Regions from separate parts of the Homo sapiens genome. Here regions 1, 2, 3, 5, 6 and 7 are each linked to region 4. Evidence: promoter capture Hi-C in 16 types of primary human blood cells and fetal thymus (Javierre and others, 2016). All regions are on one chromosome and are shown on one strand. The core of a region is centred on a gene start or on the middle of the fragment in contact, and the rest is flanking DNA. Distances in the headings are between cores, read along the strand shown.

The links. The method cuts DNA at HindIII sites, captures the fragments that hold promoters and counts their contacts. A CHiCAGO score of 5 or more calls a contact.
Region 1: a fragment that was not itself captured here is called in contact with the fragment with the promoter of CHPT1 in region 4 in 2 of 17 cell types (M1 macrophages and neutrophils); the score reaches 7.6 in M1 macrophages.
Region 2: a fragment that was not itself captured here is called in contact with the fragment with the promoter of CHPT1 in region 4 in 1 of 17 cell types (neutrophils); the score reaches 6.7 in neutrophils.
Region 3: a fragment that was not itself captured here is called in contact with the fragment with the promoter of CHPT1 in region 4 in 2 of 17 cell types (M1 macrophages and total B cells); the score reaches 6.5 in M1 macrophages.
Region 5: a contact is called between a fragment that was not itself captured here and the fragment with the promoter of CHPT1 in region 4, in 1 of 17 cell types (M1 macrophages). The highest score is 5.2, in M1 macrophages.
Region 6: a contact is called between a fragment that was not itself captured here and the fragment with the promoter of CHPT1 in region 4, in 1 of 17 cell types (neutrophils). The highest score is 5.4, in neutrophils.
Region 7: a fragment that was not itself captured here is called in contact with the fragment with the promoter of CHPT1 in region 4 in 1 of 17 cell types (M1 macrophages); the score reaches 5.0 in M1 macrophages.

Annotation. Positions count from the first base shown.
Region 1 is chr12:101,477,746-101,481,275 of GRCh38, forward strand. It overlaps SPIC (Spi-C transcription factor), which reads left to right. Exons shown (of 6, transcript NM_152323.3): 4 at 1,837-1,949. Among named protein-coding and RNA genes, the nearest start is that of SPIC, 4.2 kb to the left of the region's middle. The HindIII fragment of the contact is 3,188 bases long and covers 204-3,391 here.
Region 2 is chr12:101,937,385-101,941,320 of GRCh38, forward strand. No RefSeq gene overlaps it. Among named protein-coding and RNA genes, the nearest start is that of DRAM1-AS1, 25 kb to the right of the region's middle. RefSeq lists an enhancer at 2,447-2,741. The HindIII fragment of the contact is 6,116 bases long and covers 1-3,936 here.
Region 3 is chr12:101,522,354-101,525,805 of GRCh38, forward strand. No RefSeq gene overlaps it. Among named protein-coding and RNA genes, the nearest start is that of SPIC, 49 kb to the left of the region's middle. The HindIII fragment of the contact is 5,218 bases long and covers 1-3,452 here.
Region 4 is chr12:101,695,609-101,698,981 of GRCh38, forward strand. CHPT1 (choline phosphotransferase 1) reads left to right here and starts at 2,032. Exons shown (of 9, transcript NM_020244.3): 1 at 2,032-2,526. The coding sequence starts at 2,254. It also overlaps a transcript of MYBPC1 not described here. RefSeq lists an enhancer at 1,506-1,755 and silencers at 1,976-2,315, 2,576-2,765. The HindIII fragment of the contact is 18,657 bases long and covers 1-3,373 here.
Region 5 is chr12:101,450,161-101,453,965 of GRCh38, forward strand. No RefSeq gene overlaps it. Among named protein-coding and RNA genes, the nearest start is that of SPIC, 23 kb to the right of the region's middle. The HindIII fragment of the contact is 4,497 bases long and covers 1-3,805 here.
Region 6 is chr12:101,881,917-101,885,503 of GRCh38, forward strand. All of the region lies in intron 1 of DRAM1 (DNA damage regulated autophagy modulator 1), which reads left to right. Among named protein-coding and RNA genes, the nearest start is that of DRAM1, 6.1 kb to the left of the region's middle. The HindIII fragment of the contact is 3,451 bases long and covers 87-3,537 here.
Region 7 is chr12:101,493,852-101,497,785 of GRCh38, forward strand. No RefSeq gene overlaps it. Among named protein-coding and RNA genes, the nearest start is that of SPIC, 20 kb to the left of the region's middle. The HindIII fragment of the contact is 3,528 bases long and covers 157-3,684 here.

The DNA of each region.
Region 1 (3,530 bases), core at 548-3,047, 220 kb before region 4:
GTGGCTCACATCTGTAATCCCAGCACTTTGGGAGGCCAAGGTGGGCAGATCACTTAAGACCAGGAATTCAAGACCTGCCTGGCCAATATGGCGAAACCCTGTCTCTACTAAAAATACAAAAATTAGCTAGGCATGGTGGCGCGACTGTAATCCCAGCTACTCTGGGGGCTGAGGCTTAAGAATTGCTGAACCTGAGAGGCAGAAGCTTTAGTAAGCCGAGATGGCGCCACTGTATTCCAGGATAATGATCAGAACAGAGAAGACCTTTTTTTTCTTTTTTCTTTTTTCTTTTTTTTTTTTTTTTGAGACGAAGTCTCACTCTGTCGCCCAGGCTGGCGTGCAGTGGCGCGATCTCGGCTCACTGCAAGCTCCTCCTCCCGGGTTCACGCCATTCTCCTGCCTCAGCCTCCCGAGTAGCTGGGACTACAGGCGCCCGCCACCATGCCCATCTAATTTTTTGTATTTTTAGTAGAGACGGGGTTTCACCGTGTTAGCCAGGATGTTCTCGATCTCCTGACCTCGTGATCCGCCCATCTCGGCCTCCCAAAGCGCTGGGATTACAGGCATGAGCCACTGTGCCCGGTGACCTTTTTTATCTTTAATTTAATTTTTATTTGTTTATTTTTTTGTAGAGACAGGGTCTCACTATGTTGCCCAGGCTGGTCTGGAACTCCTGGACTCAAAAACGAGATCATTTTTACCTGAAGCATCCAGGATTAATTCTAGCAAAGGCAAAATATGTCCAGGAGTATCTAGCCTAAATAAAACTAAAGTCTCACATATAAAAATGCAGAGAATATAGAGGATGACATTCCACACAGAAATACAAAGATATATAATTATCTGCTATTAGAAATATCTGGTTGACATTTATTTATCTAATAGACAGTTCATTTTAACTATTCACGAAAGGCTTTTAAATTGTTCCAATGAATCTTATAGACCTTCCACCCACACAACAAGATATATTCTACTTGGAAGAATAAGTATTTTTATCCTTCCTCACCCATTATCCTATGGACTATATAGTCTAAATAGAATGCAAATATGTTATGTATTAAGTTTATATAGGGTATTACAGGGTGTTCCAAGATAAGAGAAATCATGTGGGCAGGGCATGGTGGCTCACACCTGTGATTCCAGCACTTTGGGAAGCCAAGGTGGGTGGATCACTTGAGCCCAGGAGTTCAAGACCAGCCTGGGCAACATGGCAAAACCCTGTCTCTACAAAAAATACAAAAATTAGCCAAGTGTGGTGGCGTGTGCCTGGAGTCCCAGCTACTTGGGAGGCTGAGGTGGGAGGATCACTTGAGGCCAGGAGGCACAGGCTGCAGTGAACCGAAATAACGTGGCCGCACTCCAGCCTGGGTAACAGAGCAAGACCCTGTCTTAAAAAAAAAAAAGAAAGAAAAGAAAGAAAGAAAGAAAAAGAAAGAAAGAAAGAAAGAAAGAAAGAAAGAAAGAAAGAAAGAAAGAAGGAAAGAAAGAAAGAAAGAAAAAGAAAGAAAGAAGGAAGGAAAGAAAGAAAGAAAGAAAGAAAAAGAAAGAAAGAAAGAAAGAAAAAAGAAAGAAAGAAAGAAAGAAAGAAAGAAAGAAAGAAAGAAAGAAAGAAATCATGCGGTTTCAGCCTGCAAGGAGCATGTTCTCCAAATGGGATATGTATAACAGTATCCATAATAGCAGCATAATGAGATAAACACCACAGGAGAAGTGCAAAGTGGCAAGAAAACATAGATGAGAGCAATTGCATCTATAAGTGCATATATATACACACATATTTATATGCACAAATACAAACTTTGACTTTTTTAGTTTCTTTCTCTGATTTAAAATTAGATTACAGAAATTACCTGGCTTTAATCAACCATCGTCCTCATGTCAAAGGAAATTCCAGCTGCTATGGAGTGTTGCCTACAGAGGAGCCTGTCTATAATTGGAGAACGGTAATTGTAAGTATCAGACCATCCCTTAATAACAGGCAAATATCCTATTCTTGCCAGCCTTCCATTTCACATACACTGTCTGAAACCCAGCTTAAAGACAGCATTGACTATGAAAATGGTTTTTTCTTTCTTTTTTTTTTTTTTTTGAGATGGAGTCTGGCTCTGTCACCCAGGCTGGGGTTCAGTAGCTCAATCTCAGCTCACTGCAACCTCTGCCTCCCAGGTTCAAGTGATTCTCCTGCCTCAGCCTCCCAAGTAGCTGGGGTTACAGGCGTGCACCACAATGCCCAGTTAACTTCTGTATTTTTAGTGGAGACAGGATTTCCACATATTGGCCAGGCTGGTCTCAAACTCCTGACTTCAGGTGATCCACCAGCCTCAGCCTCCCAAAGGGAAGGATTACAGGCGTGAGCCACTGTGCTCTACCTGAAAATGCTTTTTAAGGGCCATCAGCTGTAGTCTGAACTTGACAGTCAACATGGATGATCACATGCTGTTAGGAAGGAAATAACCCTTCATCATTGCTCTCTACTTAGCCTCAGACTGGTTTGGATGACTTCGTAAAAAGGAGGTGTTTTCAGGATGTTAATATCAGTTGCTTCTCCTTAGTCCATCTGGGAAATTGCAAAAAGTTTCCCCTAAAAGCCACAGGGCAAAGATCCAAACTGCCCCTGCACTGGTTTTACCTACAGTCTTGTATTAGACTGCTCTGTTTTCCTTCTCAAACTCAGTGTTATCTGCATGTATTGGACCAATTCATTGATATTTTATTAATAGCAGCATCTGCAAAGGGAAACACCCTGCCATCTCCCCATTCATGTATTCTTTTAGTTGTCTTCTTCATGCATCCATTTTATCAAGCGGTCTTCATGGGATGAGGTATAAATGTGAATTGGTTTTTATTTTTCTTCAGTCACTACCTTCAATCACACCATGTCAAATGTCCTTTTTCTGTTTCTATAAATTGTTCCCTTGGGGCCTCTTCACAAGACATTTTATTTTAAGAGAGTGCTTTGGGCTGGGCTCAGTGGCTCACGCCTGTAATCCCAAAGTTTTGGGAGGCTGAGGAGGAAGGATCACTTGAGCCCAAGAGTTCGAGACCAACCTGGGCAACAGAGCAAGACCCTGTCTCAAAAAAAAATTTTGTAAATAAAAATTTTAAATAGAGGGTGCTTTGGTTCCAGCTTAACCTCTTCCACCTCCACTTAGGGTTGCCAGGTAAAATGCAAGATGCCCAATATTTTGTTTGCTAAATCTGGCAACCCTTCTTCTTTCTACTTCAGCTCCCATTTTCTAGCATGTGCCTCACAGCCTCTTATCCCTGGGGACTCCTTGCCTGCTGGTCAGCCTTCTTGATTGGGGTGTGGAAAGACAGCTCAAGCCCAGCCCCTTCCGGTGTTTAACCCTTGGAAACCCACATATTCTTCTTGCCATATGTAAATGGTAGAAGCTTGGGCTGCTTCTTCCTGTCCCCTTTCTTTATTCTGCCTTCCCTTGGCTGTCATCTTTTTTTTTTAAGACAGGGTATTTTTCTCTCACCTAGGTTGGAGTGCAGTGGTGCGATTATAGCTCACTGAAGCTTCAAAT
Region 2 (3,936 bases), core at 1,192-3,691, 240 kb after region 4:
TGTACTGGTAAATTTAGGTGCTATTGGCGCCCTTGTTTTTCACTGCACAGAGAAGGCTCATCTCTAGCTGGAGTGAAGAATGAAGCTAATGAAGAGATTAAGTGGAACCACAGAAACAAGAAGAATCAAACAGAACCTTGCTAGTGTTCACGGCAGTCACATTATCTCTTAATACCCTTCCCACTCCTTTTGCCTAAATGAATTAGAATTAGGTCTCTGTCACTTGTAACCACACAAGTCCTAACTACTATAGAAGACTGTCTACTATTATTGCATGGTAGATAATAAAAAAGACGGGATGAATAAAATCTCATGATACCAAGCAATGAAGTCTTGCAAACAGGAATTTTTCAAAACTTCTCATGCTCATTTGTGGCTTTAATAAGCACCTTTTCACCACCCCTCCCAGAGCTGGTGTAGTACCAGATATAGAGGAAGCACACAGCATACCTGATGCTACAGTTTCTGGTAGCTTGGGTCTTCACTTTTCATTTTCAACAACTTTTTTCCTTGTGTGCATTTGTTGAGACGTTCAGATGCCTGGGGCTGCAATACCATCTATGCATAATGAAAAACATTCATAAAGACTTTCTAAAGTACACAAAGGGTGATGGGCTTTCTGAACAGCAGCCATGGACTTACACCAAAATATAGTCTCCATGAGCAAAGGCAGTGGGAAAGAGCCTTTGCACAGTTCCATGGTAGAGAAGATGGTTATAAAGACTGAGTGGTGTTCACATTATCTGAACCTCAAACTCAGGCACATAGCATATGAGGGAACTTATGGAAACAACGGGACAGCTTGTCTGATGTTGGGAAACCATCTTGGCATCGCTGGTTACCATATTTATAGAGCTAATCTTTAGCATCAAGACCTACTCTAGACAGGCTAATTTACTTACTGCCACCCAAGTGGCCCATGTTGGTTTTATCCTTGGCATATGCCACAAGTTCTGAGTGTCAAATATTTCTTCCTCCCTTTATCTGTTTTCCATTCACATCCTACCCATTCTCCAGGTCCAACTTTCTTACCTCCTCCAGAAACCACTGTTCTGTCTAATCTGCCACACCTGGCATTTCGTTATTCATTCTAAGAATGGCAAATACATGTCATATAAGCACGTACCCACTCTCCACACATCCGTGACAGACATCACTAATTGATGGTGGTGCTTTTTCCTTGTGTAGCTGGCAAAACCCTCAGAATTCTTCCCAACACAGCACTGGAGGCAGCCACTAAAGGCTGATTGGAGTTCTGTGAAGCCTAGTTGCTGTCTCTGATCTATCTATTCCCTTATATCGCTATTTAAAGTTTCTGAGCGTGCTTGTCTTCTTTCTCCAGCTGAGCTAAGTCCCTGAGGGCAGGGACCATGCCTCAATAATCCTAACAATAACAATCCTAACAACAATAACAGCAGTGGCAAATATTCATTGAGTACTTATATGTGCTGGCACTGTGCTGGCCATTTAACATGTATTATCTAATGGAATCCTCAACAATTCCTCTGGAGGGGGTATTATTACCCCCACTTTATAGATGGGGAGTCTGGGTCTTAGAAGATGATAAGCAACTTGTCCAATTATACAGTCAGGATGTAGCAGAACCAGAACTTGACCCCCAAATATTTTCTTTTATCCAAAGTAGTGCATTATCTTGACCTCCTCTGTATCTGTGCATAGTAGGTGCTTAATGCAAATTTGTTGAATAGGAGCTTTTTAGAAAGCAATGAAGTTCTTCACAAGAGACAGAAAGAAATTGAATTGAAAATACCGGAAGCAAATTCTCTTCCCCAAGAAGTTAGAACATTCTTGAAAAAAGGTTTACTAAACTTTTCCAACATCCTTGGCTAAAGGCAACACCATTCCCCATTCCACAAGTAAACACGCTTTATGGATACAGAAATACTAAAGGCCAACTCCAATGAATGGGAGGGATCCTGGTGAGGAAGTGGCCTGGGAGCCTCCTGACAGGGGCCTTGCAGTGTCTACTACCACCCAGTCACTGGCACCTCCCTGGGCCTCAGTTTCCAGACTTCTAGAACGATTCATTTGGACTTGATTAGCACTTCCCAAGTGTGTTCCCTGGAATATTGGCCCTGCAAGAAATTCATATAAAAAGCGGTTCTGTTGTCAAAAGCACGATTGGGAAATTGCCTTTCCCTTGGGAGAGACACAGTCCATATTAAATGCTCTGAGAAGGCCAGCAGGAAAGAAGCTCCTTATTTAATGTTACTTAATTCTTATTTAACCCAGCATTTCCTAACCCTCTTTGGTTTCACATAATAACAGCAAATATCTCTCATAACTAATCCCATACTTGGTAAAACAAAACAAAACAGAACAGAACAAAACACACAATTGGCTGAATAGATTCTAAGGACCTTCCCTCACATTCTGTAAGTTTATGAAATAATAATATAAGTTGACTATAAACTTCCCCTCAGTGAATTAAAGGTGGAGTCACAATTTTGGATTTTTGAGATGCATCCAAAAGGTTTAAAGCGTTTTAAGATAAGGAACCAAAAGTTTAGTAGTTCATGCTGCCTGGTTATTTTCGCAATATGAACAACAGGGGGCACCAGGGGACTGTAGTATGGCCACCCCTCCACAAACTCAGCAAGAAAGGGCAAACCAAAGTTGTAGCAAACGGAGGGAGGGATTTCAGCAATTCCTTTTCTAGCTGAATGGAAAGCTACTGAGAGCAATTTGGGTTTCTCTCTGGCTTTCTGTTGGAGGAATACAATGAGATAGAATCAGGATAGGTTAACATCTTTCTTTTGCTCATTCCCTTTATAGATAGAAAATCACATAAAGCAACTCTTTTCAACAACTGCTTGTCAATGGTTTGTTTCCACCTTGGGGCAACTACATTCCACTGTGGAAGTTCTTATTGAAGAAACATAGCGCCTATGAGTTGAGAAATGAGTGGTTCTTTCCTTCACCAGCTTTCTCATTTTAAAGGGGGAATAAATTGCACATGTGAGGAAAAGAACAAACTTCTTTAGGACATAAGTTCTTTGTAATTTAAATTTTTTCTCTAGACTTTGGGCTCAAGACTTATACAATAAGACTCTTTTTAATGATGTGGCAGGCTATAAAAGGATTGGAGGCAATTGAGAGAGAAGAGGAGAGGAGGGAAGGGGAGAGGAGGGGAAGGGAGGGGAGAGGAGGGAAGGGAAAGGGAGGGAAAGGGAGGGGAAGGGAGGGGAGGGGAGAGGAGGGGAGAGGAGGTTATTACCAGCGAATACTGCCCCTACACAGAGCCTCCCACGTATGTGGATATATCACATAGCTTTTTCTCACTTATCATGTCTTTATTGTTCTCTTGTGAAGTAGAACAAGACAGACAGGTCTCCCTATCCAAGCCAAACACAAGAGACTTACAGAGCCAAACACAAGAGACTTAAGGTAATTGTCAGCAGCAAATGCTCAGGTTGGTTATTTTTTTCTCTGTATCTTCCCTTATTACCCGCCAACACAGCCCCTACGCAGAGCCTCCCACGTAGGAGAAGACTTTACATATACTTTTAAAATGTTTTCCTCAAGAGAAAGAGAAAACAAGATCCAGGAATATAGCCCACAGAAACCAGCAAAGGACAGAGGAATCACTCTCCACCCATAGCAATCACCAGCTCAGAGAAACTCTGAGTTTGGAGAGTCTTTTGCATTCACCTAATTTCATCCTTGCATTATGTACAGGAGAGGACCAGGGAGTCATGCAGAGAGGTACCAGCCCGGCCAGTCCGGGAGCTTCTAGACAATTGTTCCCCAAAGCAATGCCCTTCCCACCGCCCTGTGCTGGACCCCAGTCTCAAGCCCTTAAGAGACTTCAGGTGCTTATCTCTGCAGGCAGCAAAGTGCAGGAGCAATAGCCACATCCCATCCTAATTCTACACACTGCAGTGTGCGACTTGTTTTTGACAATCCCATTCTTGT
Region 3 (3,452 bases), core at 652-3,151, 170 kb before region 4:
ACAAGTTCTTGGAAACGGTGACTTTAGGCTAAATGACATATAAAGAAACCAATTTGACCATAGGCTAATTTATATAAACAAGAGCTAAGTTCTTATGGCATATTTCTGGTCACAAAAACATCACCAAATTTCTTTTTTTTTGTTTTTTTTTGAGATGGAGTTTTGCTCTTGTTTCCCAGGCTGGAGTGCAATGGCACAATCTTGGCTTACCACAACCTCCACCTCCCGGGTTCAAGCGCTTCTCCTGCCTCAGCCTCCCAAGTAGCTGGGATTACAGTCATGTGCCACCACGCCTCACTAATTTTGTTTGTTTGTTTGTTTGTTTTTGTATTTTTAGTAGAGACGGGATTTCTGCATGTTGGTCAGGCTGGTCTCGAACTCCCGACCTCAGGTGATCCACCTGCCTCGGCCCCCCAAAGTGCTGGGATTACAGGTGTGAGCCACCACACCCAGCCAACATCACCAAATTTCTAAATAAAGATCAAAACACTTCTCATGTTAAACATTGAAACGAATGTAAGCTATACCTATGTTTAAGAAGAATTAATAAAAACAGGTAAGATAATGATTTACCCAATTATTTCAGTTCAGGGTCTCAGGAGGCTGGAGCCTGACTGAGGCACTCAAGGCACAAGGCAGGTACCATCCCTGAACAGGACACCATTTCACTGCAGGGCACACTCACAACCACACCCATACCCACTCCCACACCCACGCTTACTCACCCTGGGACCACTCAGTCGTGCCAGTTAACCTAACATGCACACATCTTTGGAATGTGGGAGGAAACCGAAGAACCTGAAGAACATCTATGCAGACATGGAGGGAACATGCAAATTTCAGACTGCAGCCCCAGCTAGGAAGCATTTTTTTTCCTCATCAACGTTATAAGGAAACGATGTTGAAAGAAAGGACATTTTGTGAGGACCTGGTGTACTGAGATTCTTCTATACGTCATACAGTCACACTCTCCTACTCTAGGGTCAAGAAAGAAACCATTCAGCCAGGCTGGGCATGGTAGCCCACGCCTGTAATCCCAGCACTTTGGGAGGCTGAGGCGGGTGGATTGCTTAAGGTTCGGAGTTTGACACCAGCTTGGCCAACATGGAGAAACCCCGCCTCTACTGAAAATACAAAAACTAGCCAGGTGTGGCAGTGTGTGCCTTTAGTCCCAGCTGCTTGGGAGGCTGAAGCAGGAGAATAGCTTGAACCCGGGAGGTGGAGGTTGCAGTGAGTCAAGACTGTGCTACGGCACTCCATCCAGGGTGACACAGCAAAATTCCAGCTCAAAAAAAAGAAAAAGAAAAAAAAAAAAGAAAAAGAAAGAGAAAAAAGGGAAAGAAAAGAAAAACCATTCAGCCTCTCACAGTGTGTGTGGGATGCTTAATTTTGTTAAAGACCTCCCCCCATACTCCTGCACTAATATTATATTAATAATTGGCACCAACAGAATTTCAATGAAACATTCCATAAACTGCCAAAAGAGATGAGGTCTCAGCATATTGCCCAGGTTGGTCTCGAACTCCTGACCTCAAGCAATCCTCCAGCCTCAGCCTTCCCAACGTGCTGGGATTACAGGTGTCACCCACCACAGCGGGCCCAAACTTCTTTATTAATTTAAATGAAAATTGCCCATTCATTTATTCAGCCAACATTTATTGAACCCCACTGAGCATTGCGAGGAACACAGGACAGATGAGGTCCCCGCTTTCATGGATCTCATTTTCTAGAATGGAAAGACAGATCATGACCAAATAAGTAGTTAAACAAAAATGTCCTAAGTGCCCTTCAGAGAATTCAAAGTGGAACATGGAATCAAGATGGTGGAGGGGGTCCATGTTACATCAGGTAGGCAGGGAAGGCCTCCCTAAAGAGATGATCTCTGCATTGAGACCTGAAGAATGAGCCAGTCATGTGAGAAGCTGGGGGCAGCATGCATGTGATGAGAGAAAGAATGAGATGAGACGAGCTGGAGGGCAGGCCTTGGAGGTCAGGGCTGGAGTGTGATTTGATCCTAAGGGCCATAAGAAGGATTTTAAGAACTTTGAAGGAAGCTAACAGGGGGAATAACATGGTCTCAATACTGAGGTCAGTTGCCTCCCCTGCCTGGTTATTTATTTTGTGTATTTTGCTATTATGTCTTTTCCCCTCCTGCCACCCTGAGTATCAATCCACTGATACCTGCCACTACTCAGGGATGCTTACGGCTTTTCATGTTAAATGATGATTTTCTTCTTTTGGAGAAAACTCAGCAAGCACAAATTCCTCCTTAAATTTTTCATGGTACTTTTTTTTTTTTTTTTGGACAGAGTCTTGCTGTGTTGCCAGGCTGGAGTGCAGTGGCTCAATCTTGGCTCACTGCAACCTCTGCCTCCCGGGTTCAAGTGATTCTCCTGCCTCAGCCTCCCAAGTAGCTGAGACTACAGGTGCACACCACCATGCCCAGCTAATTTTTGTATTTTTCATAGAGACGGGGTTTCACCATGTTGGCCAGTATGGTCATGGTCTCAATCTCTTGACCTCGTGATCCACCCACCTCAGCCTCCCAAAGTGCTGGGATTACAGGCTTGAGCCACTGCGCCCGGCTGGTACTTTTAATAATTGATCTAGCATCCTTTCTGCTATTAATGGGTAACAAAGTCTGCATCCTCAGCAAAGGTTTGGTTTGCTAGGAATAAATGACTTTACCATTTGTGACATCCTTCTAAGGATTTAGGTGGAGAATTGTTTCTGGGGAACCCAGATTTAGAAAGAGAACATGGAGACAATTTGTGGCTCTACTTGACCTTGGTCAAGCCCTTTACTTATGAGCTTTGGGGATGTCGCCCATAAATGAGGAAAACATGATAAGTCACCTTCAATACTTCTTGGTAGAATTAAACACACAAATATCATTAGAATATATTGCATTCTGTGTTAGTTTACTGAAGCAAAGTGTTGCAAACTGAGTGGCTTAATGACAATAATATATTATGTCACAGTTCTGGAGGCTAGAAGTTCAAAATCAAGGTGCCAGCAGGGTTGGCTCCTCCTGAGGGCAATGAGGGGAGGATCTGCTCCAGACCTCTCTCCTTGGCCTGCAGGTGATCACCTTCTCTCTGTGGATCTTCATGCATGGCAACACTCATGTGGATCTTCTCTCTGTGTCTTCCTTCTATGCATGTCTGTCTCTCTGTCCAGATTTCCCCTTTTTATAAGGATACCAGTCATATTTAATTAGGACTCACGCTATTCTAGTATGACCTCTTCTTAACTAATTACATCCCTATCGACTATGTTTCCAAATAAGGCCACATTCTGGCAGGGCATGGTGGCTCACGCCTGTAATCCCAGCACTCTGGGAGGCCGAGGTGGGTGGATTACCTGAGGTCAAGAGTTCGAGACCAGCCTGGCCAACATGGTGAAATCCCATCTCTACTAAAAATACAAAAATTAGCTGGGTGTGGTGGTGG
Region 4 (3,373 bases), core at 782-3,281:
TCCTGTCCTCTTACTCCTTCCTGCTGCTTGAAACACAAATAAGATGACTGGAGCTTCACCAGCCATTCTGAATCATGAGATGGCCTTATAGATACAAGTCAGAGAGGATATTGGAGCAGAGAGACAGAAAAGCCTGAGTTCCTGATGACCATGGAAACATCGTACCAGTCTTGGAGTGCCAATTCTGTACTTCTTTTATGTGAGAGAGAAATAAATTCCTGTTGTCTAAGCTATTCAGTCTGTGGTATTTTGTTATGACAATCCAAGCTGACTAATACACCTGCTTCTTTTTTTTTTTCAGTCAACATATGCTTGTGCAATTCACTCATGTTCATAAGTGCACCCTGGAACATTACCATGTTCCAGGGCTTCTCCTATAGAAACAGAACATAGCCCAGTTGATTATTTTTTATTCTGATTGATTTTTAGGAGTTCTTTACATAATCTGGGTTCTACTCATTGTGGGTTTTGAGGGAAATACCTTTTCCCAGTTTATGGCTTGTCTTTTCATTCTCTTGATGACGTCTTTTGATGTACATTAAAAATTATCTTTAATACAGTGAAATCGGCTAATCTAGAAAAGGATTTTTTCCTTGGACTGTTCATGGCATCGGTAAATTAAAAAGTAGTTACTGTCAAGTTCACTGCACATAAACCAGCATTGTTAAAAGTGGATCTCCATCATTCCATTTCCTTTCCTGCATTTGTCAGCATCGTTTTTCACACTAAAGATGAGGAGATCCATATTCCTAAGACATATACGCTTGGTCTGTAGAGACCCTCATTGCTCTAAGGCAGTGGTTGCCAGTTTTTTCCTTAAAGGGCCTAGTAGGACATAGTCCAGGCTTTGCCAGCCATACGGTCTGTCACAACTGAATTCTGCTGCCCTTGTAGCATGAAGGCAGCCAAACAATAGGTAAGGAATAAACATGGCTTTATTCGTGGCACTGAACTTTGAATTTCATATAATTTCACAACACAAAATTGTATTCTTTTGATTTTTTCCAATCATTTAAAAATGTCAAAACCATACTTAGCTGGAGGGCTGTAGGAAAACAGGTGGTGGGCTGGGTCTGGCACACAGGCAGCAGTTCGTGGACCCCTGTGCCAAGTGTTTGACGAAGCCCGTGAGGCAAACTGCACTTGCCGATAGAGGTTGCGCCACACAAGTGTCTTGGAAGCAATTTCTGGCTTGTCCTAGGCCTTAGAAAGTGCGTGCAGATCAGAGCCATGAAGTGAAGAGCAAAGCAAGTGACAGGCCTGTCTCAGGTTGTGCAACAGAACGTGTTTATGACAGATGTCCCCTGTCCAAGTGAGTGCACTGTGAGATAAGGGGCCGGTGACCTACCAATGCGTGTGGCAAGCCAGCCTGTTCCCCCTTGCAGGGGGAGGACACTCCTGCCCTTTATTCCAGGGAAGAGTATGTGTAAAAATATTCACCCTTGTTGGTATCAAATGCGCTGAAGAAAATAGGTATCGGGGTTTCAGCCATTCGGTCTCCTTGTTAGTGTTTCTAAGCCCTGATTTTCAGTTTCAAAACCTTGGTCTCTGAATCCGCAGTGATGGGTCTCTAGAGCGAATACATGGCAGGGCCGCCTTCCTCCGTACAGAAAGGGAGAATTGTGCTTGTGTGTTTTACCAAGCAGGACAGATGGGGCCGTCACCCCCGTGACCCGAGCCCTGCAAAACTGTGTTCTCACACGAAAACCCCCAGGCTCTGCGGGCAGCGTGGTCCTGCAGTGGCTAACACTGGGCGACCGGAGTCGTGTTCCGACCCCTAGGAGAGGAACCGGCTCGGTCGTGGTGCAGCCCGCGAGGAGACGACCTCAGGGCGTAATCCGACGCCGTGGGTTAAGACATCAGACCTCAGGCGCAGTGCAGCCGGCCCCTGGGGAGTCAAGGACCTTGATCGCCGATAACAAGTTGCCGTTGGCGGGCGCCGAGGGTGACCCGCGAGCGCGGCACCCGCCTCCCCGCCCCTAGCAGGACCCCCTCCGCCCCGCCCCCAGCCGGACCCCTCCCCGAGGCCCCGCCCCACCCGCGAGCCGCAGCCGCGGCCCCACAGCTTCTGGGGCTGGGGCCCCGGCAGCCGGGCAGGCCGGCCTGACCTCGACCTCCGCCGTGCGGGCCCGACCGGTGAGTCCAGCCCGGCAGTCGCAGGACCCGGCCGCCAGCCTCTCCCTCCACCTCTCCCTGCCCCCAGCGCCAGGCGCGGGCTGCGCTCGGTGGCGGCGGCGGGGCCCTCAGGCGGCCATGGCGGCAGGCGCCGGGGCCGGGTCCGCGCCGCGCTGGCTGAGGGCGCTGAGCGAGCCGCTGAGCGCGGCGCAGCTGCGGCGACTGGAGGAGCACCGCTACAGCGCGGCGGGCGTCTCGCTGCTCGAGCCGCCGCTGCAGCTCTACTGGACCTGGCTGCTCCAGTGGATCCCGCTCTGGATGGCCCCCAACTCCATCACCCTGCTGGGGCTCGCCGTCAACGTGGTCACCACGCTCGTGCTCATCTCCTACTGTCCCACGGCCACCGAAGAGGTAGGGCTGGCCGATCGCCCGAGCCGGGCCCCAGATGCGCTGCGGGCGGGTCGCTGGAGGCGCCGGGGGAAGGGCGGACCCACGCGCGGCTGAGCCTCTCCCGGGCCCCGGAGGGGCGGACTGGCCACTGCCCCGGGCGGTGTCCGCCCTGGGCCGCCTGGAGACTGTCACGCCACTATCCCAATCCCGTGACCATCCCAAGCCTCCCCTGGGCAGCGGAGGGGCTGTTAAGGTCACTGCCCCAGGTCCTATGTCCGCGCAGATCCTCCCCACGGCCGCGGACGGGCCGGAGGGCGCCTGCCCAGCCGCTATCCCATGCGGCGCCAACCTGTGAGACGGACCCGCGGTCGGGTGCTTTGCACACTGGGGACTGAACACCCCCATCTCCGTCCTGCCTGGCACAGGGACTTGTGCCAAGCCCGAGACGCCCTTTGAATACTTTCGTAACCGTTCGTTTCTGGAAGGTTGAGCTAGTGATCTTGAAATGACCGGTAGCACTGATCAAAGATGAGTTAAGAGGTAACTTCCTCTTTGCTTCATCGACTTTTTCAAGAAAAACAAACTGGAATGTTATCAAGGCAATAATTTTTTTGTCATCACAACCTAGGGATTAAAAAAACCCCAACATTTTATTAGCAATAATTACATTTGACCTTTGTACAAAATAAGGAGTAAATATAGGCTTTGGATAGCTGTTCATCAGAAGCACCCTTTGGGCTGAGTGTGGAGGGATAGGGGGCAGAGTGGAGTTCACTCCCATCTATAGTTTATACTACGTGGGATAAATATTACATTGCACATTCTGTGACATTACTTTCTATTCTCTGCTCCAAATAGTGAAGTCCCT
Region 5 (3,805 bases), core at 586-3,085, 250 kb before region 4:
TATAGCCTTGTAGCATACTTTGAATTCAGGTAATGTGATGCCTTCAGATTTGCTCTTTTTGCTTAAGATTGCTTTGTCTACTTGAGCTCTTTTTTGGGTCCATATTAATTTTTGGATTTTTCTAATTCTGTGAAAAATGATGTTTGTATTTTAATAAGAATTGCACTTCTTGATAAAAACCCATCTCTATTAAAAATACACAAATTAGGCTGGATGCGGTGGCTCATGCCTGTAATCTCAGCACTCTGGGAGGCCAAAGTGGGCGGATCATGAGGTCAGGAGTTCGAGGCCAGCCTGGCCACATAGTGAAACCTCGTCTCTACTAAAAATAAAAATAAAAAATTAGCTGGGCATGGTGGTATGTGCCTGTAGTCCCAGCTACTTGGGAGGCTGAGGCAGGAGAATCGCTTGAACCTGGGAGGCGGAGGTTGTGGTGAGCCAAGATGGTGCCACTGCACTCCAGCCTGGGAAACAGAGCAAAACTCCATCTCAAAAAAAAAAAAAAAAAAATTAGCTGGGAGTGATGGTGGGTGCCTGTAATCCCAGTTACTCAGGAGGCTGAGATAGAAGAATCGCTTGAACCCAGGAGATGGAGGTTGCAGTGAGCCAATATGGTGCCGTTGCACTCCAGCCTGGGCAACAATAGTGAAACTCCATCTCAAAAAAAACAAAAAAACAAAAAAACAATTGCATTGAATCTGTGGATTGCTTTGCGAAATATGGTTATTTTCACAATGTTGATTCTTCTTTCAATTCATAAGAATAGGACATATCTCCATCTGTTTGTATCATCTATGATTTCTTTCAGCAGTGTTTTGTAGTTCTCCTTTTAGAGATTTTTTACCTCCTTGATTAAAAGAGATCCTTTCACCTCCTTGGTTAAGTATATTGCTAGGTGTTTGTTTTGTTTGTTTATTGTTTTTTTTTTGCAGCTATTTTACTTTTTTTTTTGAATCAACAAAATCAGAGATTTATTGAAAACGAAAAGTACACTCCACAGGGTGGGAGCGGGTCCTAGCAAGCAGCTCAGGAGCCACTATTATTATTGTTACTTTTTTTATAGAGACAGGGTCTCGGTATGTTGACCAGACTGGTCTCGAACTCTTGCCCTTTCACCTCCTTGGTTAAGTACATTCCTAGTTGTTTTTTTTTTTTTTTGGCAGCTATTTTATTTTATTTTTTTTGCAGCTATTTTATTATTTTTTTTTATAGAGATGGAGTCTTGCTATGTTAACCAGGCTGGTCTTGAACTCCTGGCCTCAAGTGATCCTCCTATCTCAGCCTCCCAAAGTGTGAGGATTACAGGTTTGAGCAACCACATCCTGCCTTTTGCAGCTATTTTTAAAGAGATTGAGTTCTTGATTTGATTTTTAGCTTTGTTGTTGTTGATGCATAGCAGTGATACTGATTTGTGTACATTGATTTTCTTTTTTTTTCTTTTTTCTTTTTTTTTCTTTTTTTTGGAGATGGAGTCTCTCTCTGTTGCCCAGGCTGGAGTGCAGTGGCACGATCTCAGCTCACTGCAACCTCCACCTCCCAGGTTCAAGCAATTCTCCTGCCTCAGCCTCCCGAGTAGCTGGGATCACAGGCATGCACAACCATACCTGGATAATTTTTGTATTTGTTTTTTTTAGTAGAGATGGGGTTTCACCATGTTGGCCAAGCTGGTCTGGAACTCCTGACCTCAGGCAATCCATCTGCCTCAGCCTCCCAAAGTGCTGGGATTACAAGTATGAGCCACTTCACCTGACGTGTACATTGATTTTGTACCCTGAGAGTTTACTGAATTCATTTATCAAATATAGGCATCTTTTGGAGGAGTCTTTAAGATTTTCTAGGTATATGATTGTATCATTGGCAAAAAGATAGTTTGACTTCCTTTTCCAATTCGGATGCCCTTTATTTTTTTTTCTTGCCTGATTGCTCTGTCTAAGAATTCCTATTTACTTATTTACTTTAGTTTTCAGAAAACCATAGGTAAAAAGCTAACTTTCAAATTTCTCTTTTTTTGCAGGCATGCTTCTTTTTTTTTTTTTTTTGAGATGGAGTCTCACTTTGTTGTCCAGGCTGGAGTGCAATGGCATGATCTCAGCTCACCACAACCTCCACTTCCTGGGTTCAGGCGATTCTCCTGCCTCAGCCACCTGGGCTGGGATTACCAGTGCCTGCCACCATGCCTGGCTAATTGTTGTACTTTTAGTAGAGATGGGGTTTCGTCATGTTGGCCAGGTTGGTCTCGAACTCCTGACCTCAGGTGATCCGCCCCCTTTGGCCTCCCAAAGTGCTGGGATTACAGGTGAGCCACCGCACCCTGCCACAGGCATGCTTCTTTTGCAGACCAATATAGAAAACATAGAATACGGCCACGTGTTGTGGCTCACGCCTGTAATCCTAACACTTTGGAAGCAGAGGCAGGTGGATCACCTGAGGTCAGGAGTTTGAGACCAGCCTGGCCAATGTGGTGAAACCCCATCTCTACTAAAAATACAAAAGTTAGCCGGGCGTGGTGGTGCATGCCTGTAGTCCCAGCTACTTGGGAGGCTGAGGCAGGAGAATCACTTGAACCCCGGAGGCAGAGGTTGCAGTGAGCAAAGATTGCACTGCTGCACTCCAGCCTGGGTGACTGAGTGAGACACTCAAAGAAAAAAAAAAGAAAGAAAGAAAGAAAAAGGCAATACAGAATAAATGATTTAATATATGTGAGATGCTTAAAACTTAAAACAATGCTAGACACATAGTACGTTCTCAATTAAGGATAGCTGATTTTTGAAAAGTGATAAAATATAAATATTAGCTGAGCAGAGTTGAAATTGACCCTCACTTAATCTATAGTTATCTCAGAACAGGTAAGGATCCATTGCAAAGTGTTCTAGGGACCTAGAACTTCATTCAAAGCGTTAGAAATGTTTACCTGGCAGGTCATGGAATTGGGAGACTGGTAGTTCTATGTTCAAATCACTAGGATTAGTAAACTTTTGAATGCTTTCGTTGTCAAGTTGGACTTTGTTCTGACATTCCTGGGTAGTCTAAGTTCCTTAGAACCAACCACAGCTGATTATTTTTCTTTTTTCCATTATTTTTTATGTTGTATTTTATTTTGAGACAAGGTCTTATTCTGTGGCCCAGGCTGGAGTGCAGTGATGCCATCTTGGCTCACTGCAACCTCCGCCTCCTGGGTTCAGGCGATTCTCTTGCCTCAGGCTCCAGAGTAGCTGGGATTACAGGTTCACGCCACCATGCCTGGCTAATTTTTGTATTTTTAGTAGAGATAGAATTTTGCCATGTTGGTCAGGCTGGTGTCGAACTCCTGGCCTCAAGTGAGCCACCTGCCTCGGCCTCCCAAAGTGCTGGAATGACAGGCATAAGCGACCACTCCCATCCTGTTTTATTTTTTAGAGGCAGGGTCTTGCTCTGTTGTCCATACTGAAGTGTGATGACACAATCATAGCTCACTGCAGCCTCAAACTCCTGGGTTCAAGCCATCCTCCTGCCTCAGCCTCCAGAGTTGCCGGGATTACAGGCACACACCACCACACCCAGTTCCAATAGCAGGCTATTATTATGTGCGCCCAGAAGGAAAGAACAATGGAGAAAAGCGTGAACTTTAGAAGGTCACTGTGCTTGGTTCCACCACCTCCTAGATTTTGACCTTGAGAATCTGTGTGACTTGATTTCCTTCATTGCATCATGGTACTGATACTACTAATTACCTGGGGGTAAAACTGTCGGGCAGATTAAAAAGAGCTAATACATCCAAAGTGCTTAGAACGGGAAACACCCAAGATATTCTAGATAATTGATAAAT
Region 6 (3,587 bases), core at 562-3,061, 190 kb after region 4:
CAATATTTGCTGAATGAATATTTCTGAATGACTATTTCTTGGGTACTCACTCTTTACCCCAGGACAGGGCAGATCCCTTAAGGAAAAGCTTGACATGGCCATTCTGTTTGGTGGCTAGTCAGTGATTTGAAAGTCCTTAGGATGAGTTTCCTTTTACATTCTAACATTGTTCAGTCATTCTGATGGTCTAATTTTTTTTTTTTTTTTTTTTTTTTTTTTTGAGACGGAGTTTCCCAGGCTGGAGTGCAGTGGCGCGATCTCGGCTCACTGCAAGCTCCGCCTCCCGGGTTCACGCCATTTTCCTGCCTCAGCCTCCCGAGTAGCTGGGACTACAGGCGCCCGCCACCCCTCCCGGCTAATTTTTTGTATTTTTTTAGTAGAGACGGGGTTTCACCATGTTAGTCAGGATGGTCTCGATCTCCTGACCTTGTGATCCGCCCGCCTCAGCCTCCCAAAGTGCTGGGATTACAGGCGTGAGCCACCGCGCCCGGCCCCTGATGGTCTAATGTTTTTAGCACAGTTGAACACTTTAAATAAGAGCCACAACCATAAGGAGGACCTCTCCCCAGTATGGCATTTAGAATCAGCTTCCTTATCAGATACTTTCTCCTTGTAACATTGTTATTCTTCAGCATATTGGATAAATTGGCAAATGGCTCTTATACACATGAAAAGATACTCAACTTTATGAATAGGAATAAATATTCAAATTAAAACTCACTGATGCCAGTTGTGATCTAGTGGGTTAGCAGAAACCCAAATGTTTGATACTAGTACTGGTGAGAATATGGGGAAACAGTCTCTCTCATACATTGCTTACAGGAACGTGAATTGATTTCAGTCTCCATGGTGGGACTTGGGCAATATCTATGGAAATGACAGATACACACACACCCCCCCATCATTTGATGCAACAGCCTTTTTTTTTTTTTTTTTTTTTGAAATTTATCCTATAGGTGTACATGCCCATGTGAAGAATGGCATTTCTGCAGAGTTACTCAGGGCATTGCTTTGAATAACAAAAGATTGGAAACTACAAATGACTATCAGTAGAGAATTGCCTAAATAAATATGGTTTATTTATTAAAGGATACTTCAAGTGAAAGCTCTCTGTACCTAGCAGATTTTTACGTCAATACACTTATATGGAAAAATCTCCAAGATACATTGTTACATGGGAAAAAGCAAGATGCAGAACAACCTATGCTCTCGTTAGTTAAGAAAAAAGAGGAGAAAAATAATATATATTTGCATTAGCTTGCATAAAGAAACTAATGAAAGTGGTTTATCTGTGTGTGATGGAGGGAGGAGTAGGTCAAGGTCAGTGAGACATTGGCAGATGGGGAAAAAGGATAATTATAAGGCATACTTTTTTGTTTTATTTTTTACCCAAATAGGTTTTTTTTTTTTTTTTTGAGATGGAGTTTCACTCTTGTTGCCCAGGCTGGAGTACAATGGCACGATCTCGGCTCACCACAACCTCCGCCTCCCGGGTTCAAGCGATTCTCCTGCCTCAGCCTCCTGATAGCTGGGATTACAGGCACGTGCCACCACACCTGGCTAATTTTTTTGTATTTTTAGTAGAGACGGGGTTTCACCATGTTAGCCAGGGTGGTCTCGATCTCCTGACTTCATGATCCGCCCACCTCGGCCTCCCAAAGTGCTGGGATTACAGGCGTGAGCCACTGCGCCCCGCATGAATGTTTCCTATCAGAAAATTAAATTAAAAACATGAGGCCGGGCGCAGTGGCTCACTCACGCCTGTAATCCCAGCACTTTGGGAGGCCAAAGCAGGCGGATCACGAGGTCAAGAGATCGCAACCATTCTGGCCAACATTGTGAAACCCTATCTCTACTAAAAATACAAAAATTAGCTGGGCATGGTGGCATGTGCCTGTAGTCCCAGCTACTCAGGAGGCTGAGGCAGAAGAATCGCTTGAACCCGGAGGTGGAGGTTGCAGTGGACCGAGATTGTGCCACTGCACTCCAGCCTGGTGATAGAGCGAGACTCTTTCTCAAAAAAAAAAAAAATAAATAAATACAAAATAAAAACATGGGACCAACCACCGTGAGATATAACAAGTTAGAATAGCATAAAGTGATATTTCTTATTCTGAAACCATTAACAAAAGCATATCAAAAGGAAGGACAAATAAAAGCTAATCTCAAAAAATTAGTTTAGATTTGCACTCGGGTGTGGTGCCTTATGCCTGTAATCCCAGCACTTTGGGAGGCTGAAGTGGGCTGATCACTTGAGTCCGGGTGTTTGAGACCAGCCATGGGCAATATGGTGCAACCCTGTCTCTACAATACATACAAAAAATTAGCTGAGCGTGGTAGGATGCACCTACAGTCCCACTTACTCAGGAGCCTGAGTGGGAGGATCACTTGAGCCTGCAGTCTGAGGCTGCAGTGATCACTCCAGCTTGGGTGACAGAGTGATACCCTGTCTCAAAAAAAAAAAAAAAAAAAAAAGATTTGCACACGGCCACACCCACATTCTCAAGCCAAATCATGCTTAACTTGTTATAGTTTCTTATCAAATTATTAACTTTTTCCAGCTGATAGATCACTGTCTTCCATCTTCTTTTTGGCATGTGTCTCCTGCCATGATATCTTGCTCATGATATTCTGTGATCCTTTACTCTTCAGTGTTGCCGATTCTAGATCCTGGCTTTTCTCTTTATTAGCACGTCTCACTTTCCATGTGAATACAGTTTTGTGGGATAGATTGTGGCCTTTGGCCACCCATATTGTCCTACCTCATGACCCCATAATCTCTGCTCAGTAGTTGATGACAGAAAACTGGGTCACCTAGAATCAAGCCACTTTAAAAGGAGGAACAAAATTGCAGAGTAAATGAAGTAAAAGAAGTTTGGTCAGGTCTTTAACTTCAAAAATGATACTAAAAATTAGGAAAATAACGATTTTAACTTGCATTTATGTAACAATCACAAATTTTGGGTTATGACAAGTGTGTGTTAAATCTTCAGATGCTGATCTTTATAGAGAAAATGTTTTTTTTTTTTTTTTTGAGATGGAGTTTCACTTTTGTTGCCCAGGCTGGAGTGCAATGGCGCAATCTTGGCCCACTGCAACCTCCTGCCACCTGGTTCAAGCGATTCTCCCACCTCATCCTCCCGAGTAGCTGTGATTAGAGGCATGTGCCACCACGCCCGGCTAATTTTGTATTTTTAGTAGACACGGGGTTTCTCTATGTTGGTCAGGCTGGTCTTGAACTCCCGCCTTGGCCTCCCAAAGTGCTGGGATAACAGGCGTGAGCCACCACACCCAGCCTTGCATTCTTTTTCCAATACAATTTTATGATTATATTATAGTAAGTCTTTCATTTCACATTTAACTTTAAAGAAAGTTTCCTTCTTCTCTTTTTGTTTGTTTTTGATAAACCCTTGTGTCAAGCGCTGACTTTCAGTAGCTCAAATCGAGGGAGGGAGCTGCTCTGCTACTACGAAACCCTGCCCCAGAAGCAGGTTGTCTGTGAATGGTTTAACACCAGGTTTCCCATGAACCACATTAAGCTTTTGAAGGGGGATAGGAAGAGGTTCATTTTTGCAAAAATGTCTGAA
Region 7 (3,934 bases), core at 671-3,170, 200 kb before region 4:
AAGTGGAGGATGGCATTAATTATAATAAACTGAAAGACAGCTTCAATACGTGTCCTTCCTCTCTCCCACCCTCTATTCTTCCTTCCTATTCTTCTCCTGCTTTTCCTGTGCAAGGTAGATTATGCCACATCAGGGGTATCCAGTATGAAGTGAAAAAGCTTTTTAAATAAAAAAGAAATTAAAAAAAGAAAAGATCCTTTCAATGAATTCAGTGAATGTCATTAGTTATATGCTCATCTGCTTCCCACCACCCGCCTCGCCCCATTTTCTCCTTCCTTATTGCTAAGGTCTTCTAGTCTTCTCTCTGGGCCCTCTTGCCACTTCCCTGTCTCTTCTGGGTCCTCTCACCCTCTTCTGCCAAAGCCAACATCAAAGAGCTGTGCAGGGGGTGAAGTTAGCACACCAGGGAGAAGGGTGACAGGTAAGTTCCTCTCTGAGCCACTTTCTTAGCAGTAACAATGGCTAACATTTACTTGGCACTTTTATATGGCAGGCATTTTGCTAAGTACTTTCCATTTTCTATTCACAGCAATCCTATAAAGTATGTGTTCCTTTTATTTTCATTTGGCTGGGCGCAGTGGCTCACGCCTGTAATCCCAGCACTTTGGGAGGCAGAGGTGGGTGGATCACGAGGTCAGGAGATCGAGACCATCCTGGCTAACACGGTGAAACCCCGTCTCTACTAAAAATACAAAAAATTAGCCGGGCGTGGTGGCGGGCACCTGTACTCCCAGCTACTCGGGAGGCTGAGGCAGGAGAATGGCATGAACCCAGGAGGCGGAGCTTGCACTGAGCCGAGATTGCGCCATTGCACTCCAGCCTGGGTGACAGAGCGAGACTCCATCTCAAAAAAAAATTAAATTAAATTGAATTAAATAATAAAAATCCACTAAGAATGCCTTGAGGCATATGCTACTTTCATGTTTTTTTACATTTTAATTTTGACTGGAGTCTTGCATTTGTCTTTTTTTAATTTTAATTTTGACTGCTTCTTTTTTTTTCTTTTTGAGACAGAGTCTCACTCCATCACCCAGGCTGTAGTGCAGTGGCGTGATCTTGGCTCACTTCAATCTCCACCTTCCAGCTTCAAGCAGTTCTTGTACCTCAGCCTCCCAAGCAGCTAGAATTATAGATGCATGCCACCATGCCTGGCTAATTTTTGTATTTTCAGTAGAGATGACGTTTCGCCATGGTGGCTAGGCTGGTCTTGAACTCCCGACCTCAAGTGATCCACCCACCTCGGCCTCCCAAAGTGTTGGGATTACAGGCATGAGACACGCCTGGCTTTTTTTTTTCTTTTCTTTTTGAGACAGTGTCTTGCTCTGTTGCCCAGGATGGAATGCAGTGGCACAATCTTGACTCACTGCAGCCTCTACTTCCCAGGTTCAAATGATCCTCTAGACTCAGCCTCTCGAGTAGCTGGATTACAGATGCCCACCACCAGATCTGGCTAACTTTTGTATTTTTTATAGAGATGGGGTTTCACTATGTTGCCCAGGCTGGTCTCGAACTGCTGAGCTGAAGCCATCTGCCTGCCTCGACCTCCCAAAGTGCTGGGATTATAGGCATGAGCCACCGTGCCCGGCCTGCTACTTTCATGTAAACAATTTCCTATGATTTCCAAGATTCAAATCCCCTAATTCTAGGTTTTTAAAGGTAGAGTATATCTAAGTTGAAATCATTCTAAGGCTCCTGCTGGCTAGCATCAGATGGATAACAGCCTGGTTTAGACTTAGCTTCTAATTTTTTTCAAGGGGTATAATAAATATAAAGTGCACTAATATTTACTGTATATTGTGATTGATGTATACACCCATATAACCAACATCCAGACCAAAATACAGAATATTCCTAGCACCTTCTAATGTTCCCTCACGTTGTTTTCCAATCTATACCCACCTTCTTCACTATCACATAAGTGAATTCATATAGTATGTAGTGTTAAGACTCCCTTTCAAAAAAAAAATCTTTTAAATATTTGGTAGAATTCAGTGGTGAAGCCATTTAGTTCTGGGCTTTTATTGCTGTTTTTTTTTGTTTTGTTTTGTTTTGTTTTTGAGATGGAGTCTTGCTCCATCGTTCAGGCTGGAGTACAGTGGCATGATCTGGGCTCACTTCAATCTCTACCTCCCGGGTTCAAGCGATTCTCCTGCCTCAGCCTCCTGAGTAGCTGGGACTACAGGCACATACCACCACAGTCGGCTAATTTTTTTGTATTTTTGGTAGAGACTGGGTTTCACTGTGTTAGTCAGGATGGTCTCAATCTCCTGACCGCGTGATCTGCCTGCCTTGGCCTCCAAAAGTGCTGGGATTACAGGCGTGAGCCACTGCGCCCGGCCTTTAAAAAAAAATAAATTACTAATGCACTCTCTTTATGTATCATAGGTTGTGGTATTATATTTTTATTTATTTTTTATTGGTGTATTTATTTATTTAGAGACAGGGTCTCACTTTGTCACCAGGCTGGAGTGCAGTGGCACCATCTGAGCTCACCCAAATCTCTGCCTCCCAGGTTCAAACAATTCTCCTGCCTCAGCCTCTTGAGTAGCTGGGATTACAGGCACACACCACCATGGCCAGCTAATTTTTGTCTTTTTAGTAGCTACAGGGTTTCGCCATGTTGGCTAGGCTGGTCTTCAACTCCTGACCTCAAGTTATCCTCCCACCTCAGTCTACCAAGGTACTGGGATTACAAGCATGAACCACTGCGCCCGGCCTTATATTTTTAAAAATTGGTCTTTGTTCTTCTTTCTTGGCATGCAGCTCCTAAAACCCTTCAAATTTCCCTGAGTGATAGGAGTATCTTTTTTATTTTATTTGATTTTTAGGAAGGTCTTGCTCTGTCACCCAGGCTGGAGTGCCATGGCCTGATCACGGCTCACTGCAGCCTGCCTTTGTCTCCCAGGTTCAAGCAATCCTCCCACCTCAGCCTCTTGAATACTTGAGACTACCGGCATGTGCTACCACGCCCAGCTCGTTGTTTATTTTTTTAGTAGACACAGGTCTTCCTATGTTGCCTAGACTGGCTTTGAACCCCTGGTCTCAAGCAATCCTCTGGTTTCAGCCTCCCAAAGTGCTGAGATTACAGGCATGAGCCACCATGCCCTAGCAAGGGAGTATCTTTTACTATTTTTAACAAGTCCCCTTTTACCACATGAAATTTATGCTAATGAGATGACTTAGGGTGGGGCCTCTAGATAGCCTAAGGATGGGGTGTGTCCCAGAAAGAGCCGGTGATTAAAGGGTGTGAATTTTCAGCCCCACCTACAGACCTGTGGGAAGGAGATGGAGATGAGATTGAGCTCTTTTTTTTTTTTTAATTTTTTAATTTTTTTTTTTTGAGAAAGAGTCTCACTCTGTCACCCAGGCTGGAGTGCAGTGGCGTGATCTTGGCTCACTGCAACCTCCACCTCCTAGGTTCAAGCAATTCTCCTGACTCAGCCTCCTGAGTAGCTGGGACTACAGGCACCCGCCACCACACCTGGCTAATTTTCGTATTTTACTAGAGATGGGCTTTTGCCATGTTGGCCAGGCTGGTCTCGAACTCCTGACCTCAAGTGATCCACCCGCCTCGGCCTCCCAAAGTGCTGAGATTACAGGTGTGTGCTGAGATTACAGGTGTGAGCCACCATGCCAAGCCAGAGATTGAGCTCTTTAGAAACTCTTGAACAATGAGACCGGGAAAGCTTCAGCCTGGCGAAGACATGGACTTGCTGGAAGAGTGATGTTAAATTAAACAGCTGGTCTCTATTGTTTCAGGTGTCCCAAATTCCTTCTAGATGTCCAGAATAAATTATAGGAATTTGGACCAATTGAACAAGTGGGCAGTGTTAGTGCTTGTTCAGACACCTGGTCACTTTGAGGATTTGTTAAGACACAGTCAGGTGTCCAGTTGATGTACATGTGGGTTGGGGGACCCTCTTAAGGTGTGAAA